2 separate regions of the Homo sapiens genome follow, and region 2 is linked to region 1. The links are contacts of gene promoters, found by promoter capture Hi-C in blood cells and fetal thymus (Javierre and others, 2016). All regions are on one chromosome and are shown on one strand. Each heading gives the region's core, a stretch centred on a gene start or on the middle of the fragment in contact. The rest is flanking DNA. Distances are from core to core; before and after follow the strand shown. Region 1 holds the start of ZMPSTE24 (zinc metallopeptidase STE24). Region 2 overlaps LOC105378675 (a long non-coding RNA gene).

The links. Contacts are between HindIII fragments. The CHiCAGO score rates a contact against its expected background, and 5 or more counts as called.
Region 2: a fragment that was not itself captured here is called in contact with the fragment with the promoter of ZMPSTE24 in region 1 in 1 of 17 cell types (neutrophils); the score reaches 5.4 in neutrophils.

The regions. Positions count from the first base shown.
Region 1 is chr1:40,253,820-40,260,857 of GRCh38, reverse strand. It overlaps ZMPSTE24 (zinc metallopeptidase STE24), which reads right to left and starts at 2,622. Exons shown (of 10, transcript NM_005857.5): 1 at 2,464-2,622; 2 at 1-19. The coding sequence starts at 2,586. RefSeq lists enhancers at 2,212-2,311, 2,402-2,681, 2,762-3,031, 3,262-3,391. The HindIII fragment of the contact is 15,848 bases long and covers 1-4,742 here.
Region 2 is chr1:40,664,382-40,671,419 of GRCh38, reverse strand. It overlaps LOC105378675 (a long non-coding RNA gene), which reads right to left. Exons shown (of 2, transcript XR_947238.3): 2 at 3,744-5,432. RIMS3 (regulating synaptic membrane exocytosis 3) reads left to right here and starts at 5,738. Exons shown (of 8, transcript NM_014747.3): 1 at 5,738-6,026. RefSeq lists enhancers at 2,250-2,299, 2,360-2,509 and a silencer at 5,593-6,022. The HindIII fragment of the contact is 2,529 bases long and covers 1,639-4,167 here.

The sequences.
Region 1 (7,038 bases), core at 1,373-3,872:
TTGTTTTATATATCCTTCTCTGAAATATTTTAAAGAAAACACTTTAGTGAAATAGTTGTTTATTACAATAGTCATTTATGATCAAACATCGAATGGTTTATAGCTTGCCACTTATATCTGTTGAATTTGCTTTATACCTACACAAATATTGCACTTGATCAAGTACATGAAACGACTGATGCAGGAAAATAAAAGCAGAACAAGAGAACCTGAGGTGACCTGACTGGTAAAACTATAATCAGGGTTGTCATCACACTTCAGTTTGTATATGTAAACCAAAGCTGTTAACATCACAACTTTGTTACATGTACTACTCATTCTGGGTATTACATACCTCCTATAATACGGAAAACAAATTCATGCAAAGGAGAAGCACACATGCTAACTGTGAGTATGAACAGATACTGAGGCTGCTCATTAAATTTGGTCCTAAATGCCAGAAACTTGAGGATCACCAGATGGAAACATATCAGGTCTGTGAGAAAAGACCAATTTTCAGCCGGGCACGGTGGGTCACGCCTGTAATCCCAGCAGTTTGGAAGACAGGGGCAGAAGGATTCCTTGAGCCCAGGAGTTCAAGACTGGCCTGAGCAATGTGGTGAAATCCCGTCTCTACAAAAAATACAAAAATTAGCAGAGTGTGGTGGTATGCACCTGTGGTCCCAGCTATTTGGGGGGCTGAGGTGGGAGGATCACTTGAGCCTGGGAGGCAGAGGTTGCAGTAAGCCCATATTGTGCCACAGCACTACACCCTGGGTGACAGAGAATCTATCTCCTTAAAAAAAAAAAAAAAAAAAAAAAAGGAGAAAGATCAACTATCTCATTATACTAAATTATAAAAGGTAAGGGTAATTTCAGTCCAGGAAATGTAATACAGAGAATGGATACCAAACAAAATAATGGGCCACTACAACATGCTTTCCCTATATATTGTTGTGTGCCAATAAAAGCTGAGGGGAGATCGAGCACGGTGGCTCATGCCTGTAATCCCAGCCCTTTGGGAGGTGGAGGCGGCAAGATGACTTGAGTCCAGGAACTCCAGACCACCCCGGGCAACATCTCTACAAAAAAATCAAACAATTAGCCAGGCACAGTGATCCGCACCTGTGGTCCTAGCAACTCAGAAGGCTGAGGTGGAGGTGGAGGGGTCGTTTGAGCCCACGAGTTCGAGGCTGCCTTGAGCTATGATGATGCTACTGTGCTCCAGTCTGGGTGGCAGAGTGAGCCCCTGTCTCTAAATACAATAAATATTCTATCCTGGCCAAGATGGTGAAACCCCGTCTCTACTAAAAATACTAAAATTAGCTGGGCGTGGTGGCACGTGCCTGTAATCCTAGCTACTCGGGATGCTGAGGCAGGAGAATCATTTGAACATCCCTCCCTCTGCGCGCTGCTGGCAGTGTCACAGACACACTCTTCCCCTTGCAGACTCTCCCTCGTCCCTCCTAGTTTCTTGCAGTGAGCCGAGATAACGCCACTGTACTCCAGCCTGGTGACAGAGCTAGACTCTAAAATTAAATAAATAAATAAAGATTAAAAATAAATAAATAAAAGTTCAGATCTCTAAACCATGGTTATCTCAGGTAAATTGTTAACTTTCACTTTTTATTTTACCATTTTAATATTTAAACTAAAATAATGTTGATTTTATGAAAAACGAGAAATATATTTCATTTAATTTCATTTATTTATTTATTTTGAGATTGAGTTTCACTCTTGTCGCCCAGGCTGGAGTGCAGTGGCACAATCTCAGCTCACTGCAACCTCCGCCTACTGGGTTCAAATGATTCTCCTGCCTCAGCCTCCCAAGTAGCTGGGACTACAGGTGCGCGCCACCACACCCGGCTAATTTTTCTATTTTTAGTAGAGACGGGTTTTCGCCACGTTGGTCAGGCTGGTCTCGAACTCCTGACCCCAGGTGATCCGCCCGCCTCGGCCTCCCAAAGTGCTGGGATTACAGGCATGAGACACCACGCCGGGCCCGATAAGTTTTTTGTTTGTTTGTTTGTTTTTTCAAGCAGAAACAATATATGCACTTTAAGGAGAAACAAGAGTGCAAGTTCTTGGAAGGACTGCAAAATCCTATGGTTAGGCATGATTACATAAATGTCATGAGGAAGTTGGGTGTCTAAATCCTTTTAAAGGCTTATTCCAAAGATAAAGGAGGCCAAGTCTGGGCCCAAGGATCCCAAGGAAGCTGCAGGGAGGGCACAAGAGCCCAAGCCTTCCTCCAGGCCCTAAAGGGATTGGGTCCCATGATAACGTTACAGAAAACTTCCTTGACGCACCAAGACCCTCCTCAAAGCCACAGTCCGCCATCGGGCCAAGTTACGAGACTCAGCAGGGACCACAAAGACGAGACTGGCGCGGGGACCGAAGCAATCAAGAGTCTCAGGGTCGAAGCCAAGGCTACTCCAGGGCTGGCCGGGTATGGGGGTCAGGTTGGACCCTGTCTAGGCTCACCTGCCGCTGTGCTAGGAAGGTCTCCCAAAGATACACTGTCCAGGAAAAGAGCAGCACGGCCCCGAAGATACGCTTCTCGGCCGGCATCTCCCACAAAGCGTCCAGCGATGCCCACATCCCCATGGCCACCCGGTTCCGCCGGCTCCTTCAGCGTGCACCGGTGCCACACCGACACTCGTCCCTTCAGAGCGTCCCCGCGGTGTCACAGCAATATCCGTTCTTTCCGAGGGCCCCTACGCCGATACCCGCCCCCATCCCTCCCTCTGCGCGCTGCTGGCAGTGTCACAGACACACTCTTCCCCTTGCAGACTCTCCCTAGTCCCTCCTAGTTTCTACAGGAAAAGCCCCAGCCCCACCTTCCTCACTTCCGGCCCAAAGAGGGCGGGGACCCAAACGCCGAGTTCCGGGCCCGGCTGAGCTGTGTTGCATCAACATTCTTCCCCCACGTCTTGACGCTGGGTTCCGGCCTAGGGTTCTGGCTTTCCTCCTGGGCTAGTGAACGCGGCGAAGTCCTCCTCTTTCTAATCTCCAGAGCCGCAGTTCCATCCTCTGGGTCAGCGGCTTACCCTGACTGGGCTGCGGTATCTGCCTTCCTTCCCCCAACAAGGCGACAGGTAGTCGGGGCTGGGGCCGGAACTGACTGAGTGGGCCGCAACTGACTGAGTGGGCCGCGGCTCCCGCCTGAGGAGGCTAGGAAGGACTGAACAGCAGCCGACTTCCCAGGCTCTAAAAATCGTGCCTCTGAGTTAGAGCTACCTCAAAAGCAAGACCAAGCATGAGAAATGGAGTCTTTTGGCCAGTATTGGGGTGTTCGGAATTCAAGCGTATGAGAGAGTGGACGGTAGCGTTGAGAATTTTCATTTGAAGATCTCGTCTTAACCACCCCAAGTGTAGTCAGAGGCGGCGTTTTCCCTGCGAGAGTGCCCTGGAACAAAGCAAGGATAGCGTGGGTTAGACATACCTGAAATGAAAGCGTCTTACTTTATCTAGGTACATATTTGCGTCAGTAAGGCGCAACGCCATTTCTCTCTTGGAATTCAGAAGTGAAATATGGTGACTGGGACGCCTGTACATTGCTTTGACTTAAAAATTGAAGTCCATTATTCTGACCGAAAGTTAATCTGATGATTAATTGGTTAAACATACTATCGTTGCTAATTAGCATAATTATTATTTACAATAAAGTGAGCTAAATAGCTACAACTAAAATATATTTAAATTACTGTGATATTGTGATGCTAAAGATGTGTTGAAATTAATATCTTGAATTTCTCAACCCTGCCTAAATGCCTCTGAGAGTAATTAGTATAATTAAAAGTCACTAGAGAAAGTGAATGACTCTAATAACAGGATAACAAATTCTTTTCAAGTCAGATGGTTTCCAGTTCTTTGCTTTCAACAAAATTAATGGTGGCCCATGAATTGTCAGCTGATGAAGGAACACTATTTGGTTTTTGGCATGCAACTCGGAAAGAAACCAAACGATTGATTGACATGCTTACAACAAAACTACTAGCATTCTCACCTATTTATGTAAAACCATTTCTCAGCACTTGTATCTGTGAAAACAACAGAATTGAAAATGAACCCTGTTAATCTACCAGTAGGAACTATTCATCCAGATAAATGAATTAATTGGTGGGTCAGCCCCATCTATCTCACTAAGAGATGTGTTCCCAATAGAATTTCACCTTTTATAACTGTGTGTTATCAATATTTGCAATCGTGTCATTTTGATCCATTATATACTAAAGATGATTGTGATGATTACTCACTTCAGAAGAATTCCAGCGTAGAGCCATAAAGTTACACGAAATTTTTTAAGGTTTACTACATATGTCATATTTTTATTGCGAAGAAGTGATCAAGAAAAGGTTGTTCAAACATCAAAGTACTATATTTGAATAACATTTTTTGTTAGAGTACAATCTAAATATGTTAGAGATAATAAAAGAACAATGTTGAAGAGCTCATTAGTGTATGTTTTAATGCATAATGGTGGTTATTCAGTTGTTATGTAGATTCTCTTGGATACATTATAAAGAGTGATTTAACAGTTTTATCTTAAAATGTCAGTATTTACAATTTGCAAGAATTTACATCCATTGCAACTATTTGAATTTATGATGGAACCAGTTAGATACCAACTTAAATATATAAGGGGTAAACACTTTTTCAAAATTTTCTCTCCCTCAGGCCATCATTGCTATGCCCTCTTCACTCTTGACTTCAGCTGTCTGTGAGTCCAAAGCCTCACAGGAGCTTCTACCACCCAAGCTTTGTGGCTAAGGGCACAGGTTTAGAGTCAAGCTGCTTGATTGCCAGCCACGGCCGCACCATGTATTAGCACGTTCTTTAATCTGTGCATCAGATCCTCATCAGTAAAATGAGAATAACATAGTATGTACTTACTTTCTCATACTGTTAGGATCAAATGAGAAAATTCATGTAAAGCTCCTAGCAATGTAGATGGCCCTGAGTGCCCAATAAAGGTTAGCTACTGCTTGGGAGAGGGGCATCATAGCATTGATCTGTCACCATGTGTCTGAAGAGATAGGAGAGTAGGAGGCCGAGGTGTCAAAAAGCCAAGACTGACTGGAATTCATTCATTCAATAAATACTGAATGTCTGCGAAATGCCAGACGCATTTCCAGGTGCCAGGGATATAGCAGTGAACCAAAGCCCCTCTCCTGGAGCTTACATTCTTAGCTGGGGTGGATGCAGTGTTTGATAAATAATAAGCAAATATTTAATAGTAAAAGTGGAAGTGGTGATAAGTGCTATGAAGAAAAAGCAGCAAAAAGGCAATACAGCATGTTGGTGTGAGGGATGCTGCTTTACATAAGTTGGTCAAGGAAGCCTTCTCAGATTAACTGGCATTTGAGTCCCCCAAAAAAAGTAAGAGAACAAGCTGTGTGGATATCTGAGGAAATTGCCAGTCAGAGTGAAGAGCAAGTGCAAAGGCCCTGAGATTGGCCAATGCTTATCATATCTGAGGAATGGCAAGAGGCTGTGGAAAGAGTAAGGAAGAGGGGGAGTGCAGATCCATGCCATCATGCAGTCTTTTAGTTAAAAGACTTTTACTTAGAATGAAAGAATAAGCCATTGCAGGATTTTGAGCAGAGCATTGCAGAGTTTTGAGCAGACAATCCTTCTCATTACAACGTGGAGAATAAATTTAATGGGGAATGGAAGGAGGGAGTGCAGTTAGGAGGCCATTTCAAGAATCCAGGTGATTTAGCAGTTGCCAAGGATATCAGAAAAAAAGAAAAAAGAATCCAGGTGAGAGATGGTAGTGCAGACTAATGTGGTGGCAGTGGAGAACTAGTGAATTATGGAAAGTGAATAATCACTTGTTTCTCTTTTCAGAAAGACAGTACTAATAGAAGGGCTGGCCTGTGTGGAGTCTAAAAATGGGAACCTCAAAACAGGCTGTTGGCAGGATTTTGCTAAAGGAGAAAGACTGGCAGGGTGTGCTGGCTCACACCTGTAATCTCAGTTCTTTGGGAGGCCAAGGTGGGATAATTGCTTGAGTGCAGGAGTTCGAGACCAGCCTAGGCAACACAGTGAGACTTCATCTCTATAAAAATAAATAAAATGACTGAATTTGAAAGATAAAGATTATTATCCCTAGAGTGATAGACATTGCTGTAGGGTAGTCCATCTACCCTGTCTAACCTAAATCATAGAGTTGCTCTCAAGCTTTTTCCCTATCTTGCCTTGATTCTCTGCTTACCAAGCATTCAAGGTCCCTTAATTGAAACTCTGGCCATAAGTGCTCTGGCCTCAAGAAAAGAATGATCCCCCTTGGCTGGGCGCAGTGGCTTACGCCCGTAATCCTAGCATTTTGGGAGGCCGAGGTGGGTGGATCACTTGAGGCCAGGAGTTTGAAACCAGCCTGGCCAACATGGCGAAACCCCATCTCTACTAAAAATACAAAAAAAAAAACAAAAGACAAAAAACCAGGCATGGTGGTGGACGCGTATAATCTGGAGGCTGAGGCAGGAGAATCGCTTGAACCCGGAAGGCGGAGGTTGCAGTGAGCGGAGATCACACCACTGCACTCCAGCCTGGGTACCCTTACAAGAGCAGCTGTTATTTCTTTTGCATCTAGCTCATTCTACTTTCTAGCTCATACGTTCTGTCTCTCATATAGGCTACTAATTCTGTGTTACTCCCTGTTAAAAAAGAACAAAAACAAAAACCCTGTAATGGTCCATTTATGATAGTATAAAGCCCAACCTATATATGGTATATATGGTATGACCTTCGAGGTCCTTCATTACCTGACATCAGTCTACTCTTCAAAACTCTTCTTTTTTGGCCGGGCGCGGTGGCTCACGGCTGTAATTCCAGCACTTTGGGAGGCCGAGGCGGGTGGATCATGAGGTCAGGAGATCGAGACCATCCTGGCTAACACGGTGAAACCCTGTCTCTACTAAAAATACAAAAAATTAGCCAGGCGTGGTGGCGGGTGCCTGTAGTCCCAGCTACTTGGGAGGCTGAGGCAGGAGAATGGCATGAACCCGGGAGGCTGAAGTTGCAGCGAGACAAGATTGCGCCACTGCACTCCAG
Region 2 (7,038 bases), core at 1,654-4,153, 410 kb before region 1:
CATGAGATTTAGGTGGGAACACAGATCCAAACCATATCACCAACAATCTTAGTTTTGTATCTCCAGCCACAGTTTCTCTTCTGAACTCCACAGTGAATCAGCTGCCTATGCAGCCCTCATCTGGGATGTCCCACAGTGTGTGCATCTAAACACATCCAGAATCAGCATCCCCCCCAAGGCCTAGGCATCATTCAGGCTTCCCTGTCTTGGTGAAGAACATCACCACCCAACCAGTTGTAGGGACCACCTACCTCCTACAGCCTCCCACTACCAATAAAACAGCAAGTCCAGCAGTGTCTACTACCTAAACCACAAAATCTCTCCAATTTCCCTCTGCCTCCCTAGCCCAAATCCCCATAGCTCTCAATGGACCCCTGCAAAAGTCTCATTAGTTTCCCCAAATCTGCTCTTTCTTTGTACTAATCCATGCTCCTCATTGCAGCTGGAGTGACATTTAAAAAATGCTACTTTCTCCTTTAACTCCTTTGCTGAAAGATTTCCAATATCTCTCCACTTAAAAAAATATATATTATTAAGTTATTGGCCAGGCGCAGTGGCTCACTCCTGTAATCCCAGCACTTTGGGAGGCTGAGGTGGGTGGATCAGGATTCAAGACTAGCCTGGCCAATATGGTGAAACCCCATCTCTACAAAAAACACAAAAATTAGCCAGGCGTAGTGGCACATGCCTGTAATCCCAGCTACCCAGGAGGCTGAGGCAGAAGAATTGCTTCAACCTGGGAGGCGGAGATTGCAGTGAGCAGAGATCACGCCACTGCCTCCTGGGTAACAGAGTGAGACTCCATCTCAAATATATATATATATATATATATATATATATATATAAAATTATAACTAACACTTATGGAAAATTTATATCCTAAGGTCTGTTCTAAGAACTTTACACATATTAACTCATTTAATCCTCATAACTCTAAATATTCCCATTATACAGACAAGGAAACAGAAACTCAGAGAAGCAACTTCAGGGCCTTTGTGTAAGCTCTTACCCATCCTTGGCTTGTTGATCTGGCTGACTGCTATTCAAGCTTCAGATGGGATGCCTTGGGGAGCATTCAAAGATCTCCCTGTCTAGGCCAGTCCCTCCCATAGCATCTAACCCAGTTTTTATTATACAATTATTTAGGGGGTGATTTGGTTCATGTCTGTCACCCCCATAGGCTTTAAATTCCATGTTTTGCTCATAATTATATCTTGAATATTCAACATATAATAAATACTTGATATTTGTTGAATGAATCAATGAAAAGCATTTTCAGTAAGAGAGGGGATGTGGTCAGATTTGTTTTAGAAGGATTTCTCTTGTGTAAAAGTTTGAAGGTGGTGAGACCAAGTCACCAACAGCAGCTGAATTCAGGAGTGACAGGAAGGCAGGCTGGACTAGAGGAGAGGCAAGAGGGATGGAGAGAAGTGGGTGAACCTAGGAAGTATTTAGGAAGCAAACTGGATGGCTCTGATAATTAAGTGGATAGAAGTGAGGAAGAGGAAGGAATCAGGAGGGACTCCCAAGTTTCTGAGAGCACCTTGAACTGGGGTGAGAAAGCATCTGCAAAGGAGGCAGGTTGGGTTGGCAGAGCAGGCTGTCCCTAGACCCAAGCAACTGAAACATGGAAAAGCTTTCAAAAAAATCTTTGCACCCAAACTCCTTAGCTTGGTCCTGGTGTACTTTATTCAGCCCCATCTGTGGTCTACCCCCAAACTCAGAGCATATAGATCACTGCTCCTCCCCCAAGCCCCACTTGTCATCCAGCCCACCTTAGTAAGTGCCACCCCACTACTCTCTCTCCACAAGATGCAGCTTGGAGGACGTCTCCTCTGGGATCCCTCCCCACTGCCCCCACCGCTTCCTGGGGTGAATGAGTCCTCTGTAGCCATCAGGATTCGCTGTATCAGGAGTGTTCCTCTGCTGTCACCTCTGATGACTATTTTCCTCAATTCAGAATCCCCAGCACCTGCAAAAGGCCTGGATAAAGGTAAACCTCAAAAAAGTTTGTTTTATTGAATTTTCCCAAAGGTTTGGCTTTATTACATTAAGAGCTGAGGCCAGGAATGTGGCAGTAAATTCTGGTGCCACCACTTAGAAAGACAAGTCACTTTTTTCAAGCCTCAGTTTCCGTCCATCAAATGGAGATAAGAATACAGTGCACCTACCTCGAAGAGCTGTTTTGAGGGGAAAATGAAATATGCTAGGTTAAGTGTTTAACACAATGCCTGGAACATGGTTAGTTCCCTCAAAAAATTAGCTGTTATTTATTTATTTTTAAATTCTCGCCTTGATGCTCAGAAGGGGCTGAGCAGGAACAGAGGATTGCAGTTCTTAGGATGGCCACGCGAGGGAAGTGGTGAGCAGCCTCCAGGAGGACTTCGGCTCGGCTGTGCCAAGGCACCTGCTGAGGACCCAGATGGCCCGCCTGGGGTTTCCGGGACTTCCCGGCCCCTAAACATGTGGGCGCTGGCCAGAGCGCCGCAGGAGAAGCCTCTGCCAGGTGCTCGGTCTCGACTCTCACAGCCCCAGCCATCCCTCCTGCTCGTCCCCGTCTCGGCTTGGAGGGGCTGGCGGGCAGGAGGGGACAGGGTAGGGGGCAACCAGGATATATCCCCTCCGTTTTGTCATTTGTCTTTCAAACTGACTTATGGCCATTTCTTCTGTATAGAAGCCTTGTAGTCAAACATTTCCATGTTTTCTCTTATGGCTTCTAGGTTTCATCATGCTTAGAAAGTCTTTTCCATCTCCAAGATTATTAAAATATTCACTCATGTCTTTTTTCTGATACATTATGGTGTTAAATATGTGGTCCACCTGGAATTTATTTCAGTGTCGAATAAGGGCACAGCTTTTTGTAATTTCCCCAAAAGACTTGCTGGTTATTCCACCCATTTGATCTCCGCCACCAACCCCCCCCCCCCCGCCCACAACCCCCTACCAACTCCGCCCCCCATTTGTCTGAAGTGCTGTCTTTTATTCATTCATTCATTTAGAGACAAGGTCTTGCTCTGTTGCCCAGGCTGGAGTGCAGTGGCGTGATCACAGCTCACTGCAGCCTTGACCTCCCAGGCTCAGGTAATCCTCCCACTTCAGCCTCCCTGGTAGCTGGGACTACAGGTGTGTGCAATCATGCCCAGATAAATTTTTTTTTTTTTTTTTTTTTTGAGACAGAGTCTTGCTCTGTTACCAGGCTGGAGTGCAGTGGTGCGATCTCAGTTCACTGCAACCTCCGCCTCCTGGGTTCAAGCGATTCTCCTGCCTCAGTCTCCCAAGTAGTTGGGACTACAGGTGCATGCCACCACACCCAGCTAATTTTTGTATTTTTAGTTGAGACAGGGTTTCACCATGTTGGCTAGGATGGTCTCAATCTCTTGATCTTGTGATCCGCCTGCCTCGGCCTCCCAAAGTGCTGGGATTACAGGTGTGAGCCACCGCCCCCGGCCACAAGTTTTGTATTTTTTTATAGAGACAAAGTTTTGCCATGTTGCCCAGGCTAGTCTCAAGTGATCTGCCCGCCTCAACCTCCCAAAGTTTTGGGATTACTGGCATGAGCCACTGTGCCGGGCCTGAAGTGCTATCTTTATCATACATTGAATTCCCTTGTGGGGCTGGATCCATTTCCATACTCCATTTTGTTCCACAGATCGGTCTAGTCCTGCTTCAATACCATACTGCTTTAAATACATTGACTTTATAGTATGTTTTAGTATCGGGTAAGACAAATCCCTTTTCATTACTTTTCTTCCTGGACTTTTTATTCCTGTATGTTTATTCTTCTATATACACTTAAGAATCAACCCCCTCTCCACCCACCTCCCATCCAGTCCTTCTGGTAACCAATATAGAACTTTGAAGATACTGAAATTATATGCAAAATATACATTGCACATCTCCAGAGAGATAGTGCTAAGTTTTCATCAGATGTGCAAAGGGAACCCCTGGTTTACCTGTCTCTGTGAAAGGGGCCAGGGAGGAGCACACAGGAAGCCTGATTCCTCTCTGTGCTCCCACCCCTCACCTCCACCCTCGTTCCAGGTCCTGCCCTGGCCTCCATCCCACCTCCCCTAATCTAGTCCCCCTTGCTGCTCCAGAGTAACCCATTCTACCACCCAGGCCCTAGTCCAGGCCTAGGCCTGAGGTAGAATAGCTGATAACAAAGCTTTAATTAATATGTAAATATAATCAGGAGCCCCAGCTCCACCTCTGACCAGCTATGGAACGCACTTTGAGGCTTTTCACATTGTAGGGCCTCAGTTTATGCTTCTCACAGACCAGGTGAGAAGGGAAGGCGTAGGATGACTATGCCTCCTAGCAATCCCCAGGAGGATCCTTTAATCCCAATAATTTTCCTTTTTCTCCCCACCTTCCCACTCCCCATTTACTTTTTTTTGAGACAGAGTTCCCCCTGTCACTCAGGCTGGAGTGCAGTGGTGCGACCTCGGCTCACTGCAACCTCCGCCTCCTGGGTTCAAGTGATTCTCGTACCTCAGCCTCCCGAGTAGCTGGGACTATAGTTGTGTGCCACCACACCTGGCTAATTTTTGTATTTTTAGTAGAGATGGGGTTTCACCATGTTGGCCAGGTTGATCTCGAACTCCCAGCCTCAAGCAATCCACCCACCTTGGCCTCCCAAAACACTGGTACAGGCATGAGCCACCGCACCCAGCTCCCATTTACATTTTAATTCATGCCCTCAGCAGGGAGACTACTGGTTTTACATGCCTCCAGCAAATATTAATTATTCTGTCCTCTCTGTCAGTGGGTGGAATTCAAAACACTGGAGCCCAAGAGTGGAACTGACCAGTCCTAAGCAAGGTTAAATATACAAGTTGGGGCAGGCACGACCCTAGGAAAGACTTCATACAGTATCCTCCCGGGCTGCAGAAGAACCCAGGACTCCAGGAGTCTATTTGGAAGTTTATATAGGCAGATGCCAGGCCCTAGAACAGAGTTTCTCAACCTCAGAAACCTGCTGACATTTCGGGCCTGACAATTCTCTGGCGCAGGGGCTGTCCTGTGCATTGAAGGCGTGTAGCAGCATCCCTGGTCTCTTCTCATGAGACGCCAGTAGCAACCTCCTCGTTGGGAAAACCAAAAATGTCTCCAGACATGGTCGAATGTTCCCTGGGGGGCAAAATCGCCCCAAGTTTAAAACCATTGCTCTAGAAGTAGAGAGCGCAGGGGAAGCAGGTTAACTTGGGCTTCAGGGCCGGCCACTCTACTTCCTTCTGTCTGAAAGGGACATTATAAAGTCTTTCTCTTCATACCAGGCACTTGGGCAAGTCTTTTCTCCTATCTGAGCTTCAGATTTTCCATCTGTAAAATGGACTTGACGTTTGTAAGTCGTTTCTTCTCTTACCATCTGACGTTCCTGGAACTGCTTCAGGGCAGGGCAGGGCAGGGGGCGCCGTGGTGCCTGTGAGGTCCTGGGAGGTGCCCCAAAGAAAAGGAAGGATGAGAAAGAACAGATAGGGTAGGTGGTGGAGAGGGGAGGCCGGGCAGGAGGCAAGAGAGTCCTAGGGACACGGAGAGGAATGAGGCTTCCCCAGACCCCGCTTCTTGGAAGCCTCATTAATGTAGGTCCCCCAACCACAACCCGGCAAGCCAAACTCCCCGGATTCCCCTAGGCCCCGCCCACCACCAAGGTCCGGCCCACTGGCCCCGCCCATCCACGCGGCCCCGCCCCCGGCAGGCCCCGCCTCCCCTTCGCCTCCCGCCGGCCCAAGCTTGGGCTTTGCACCCGGCGGCGACTGAAAACGGTGGCTGCTGCGGAGCCGGCAGCGCAGGCGGGCGGAGCGGAGCTGCCCCCGTGGTGGCGGGCGATGCCCCCGTGAGCCTCCCTCGCCGCCCCTCCCCGCCCCGCGTGCCTATCCACTCGGAGTCCGCGCCAGCCTGGGGCCGGGCCGCGCCTACTGCCGGGTTCGCGGGGCGGGGTCCCGGGGCAGCACCTGCCCCGCCTTGCGGAGCCGCCTCGGCCTGTGGAGGCCCCCTCCCTGTCTGGACCCCGGCCCCACCTCCGGGTAAGTCAGCAGGCCTTGCTCGCCTGGGAGTGGACGTGGGGAGGGGGCTGCAGAGGTCTGGAGGACCACGGGGGGAGGGGGGCTCTGGCCATGAAGCGCAACGTAGGTATGTGAGTGTGCAGGGGCGGGGGTGGGGGGATGAACACAGGGTGTGAGAGGGCTCTGGGGAGGGGACTAAGGGATGAGAGAGGGACGTGGGGTGTTTGGGGAAGCCTGGAAAATGGGGAAGGGGGCCCAGAGTCTTGAGTTCTTTGCTGATGCTCAGAGCTCCTGGGGCCCTGGTCTTCAACAGCATTGCCTGGCATGGCATTTTTGGAAAGTGCTTAAAATCCCTCCTGGAAAGGGAGCTGGAAGGCAGCCTGCTTTTCTCCCTTCTGCCTGTGCCCTGGTTGAGAAGCAGCCACTTTTTCCTCAACGTGACACCGTTGTGGTGTCCAGAGGACCCCCTCCACCCCATAAAAGAAAAGGAGTGCTGCTTACTCCAGCCCTGGGGTGGGAAGAGGGGGCTTTGGGAAGCTGGGAATGCAGTTGGTCAGCAGCATGGTGCAGAGCCCAGGGTTCAGGGAGGCTTGGCAGGACCCTTGATGGGCAACTTGGGCATGCTCTCATTCATAGGGAGGAGCTCTTCCCTGACTGGCCGCCTGGGTACCTGGACTCCATGTCCCCATCACCTCTGGACAACTCAGCCCTGAGGAGTGGGTTTCTTCAGTGTCCTGGTCCTGAAGGCTCAGGAAGGATCCTGGAATGGGGTGGGCAATGGCATATCAAGGCTGGAGAACAGGGGGCATTGGCTGGCACTGCCACTTGGGGCCTGTTTCAATGTGGTCCTTCAGGGCTTGGACACCTGGGTGAATATGTGTCCAACCCTAGCCCCAGGGGTGTTATCAGGATGTAGGGAAGAAGGCTGCTGCTCCTTTGGTCCTGTCCTCTATCCATGATGACTTCTTAAGTCTGGGTTCCTTGGGTTTGGGGCCTGAAGTCATGGGAGGAGGATTGGGCCTGGTCAACAAGG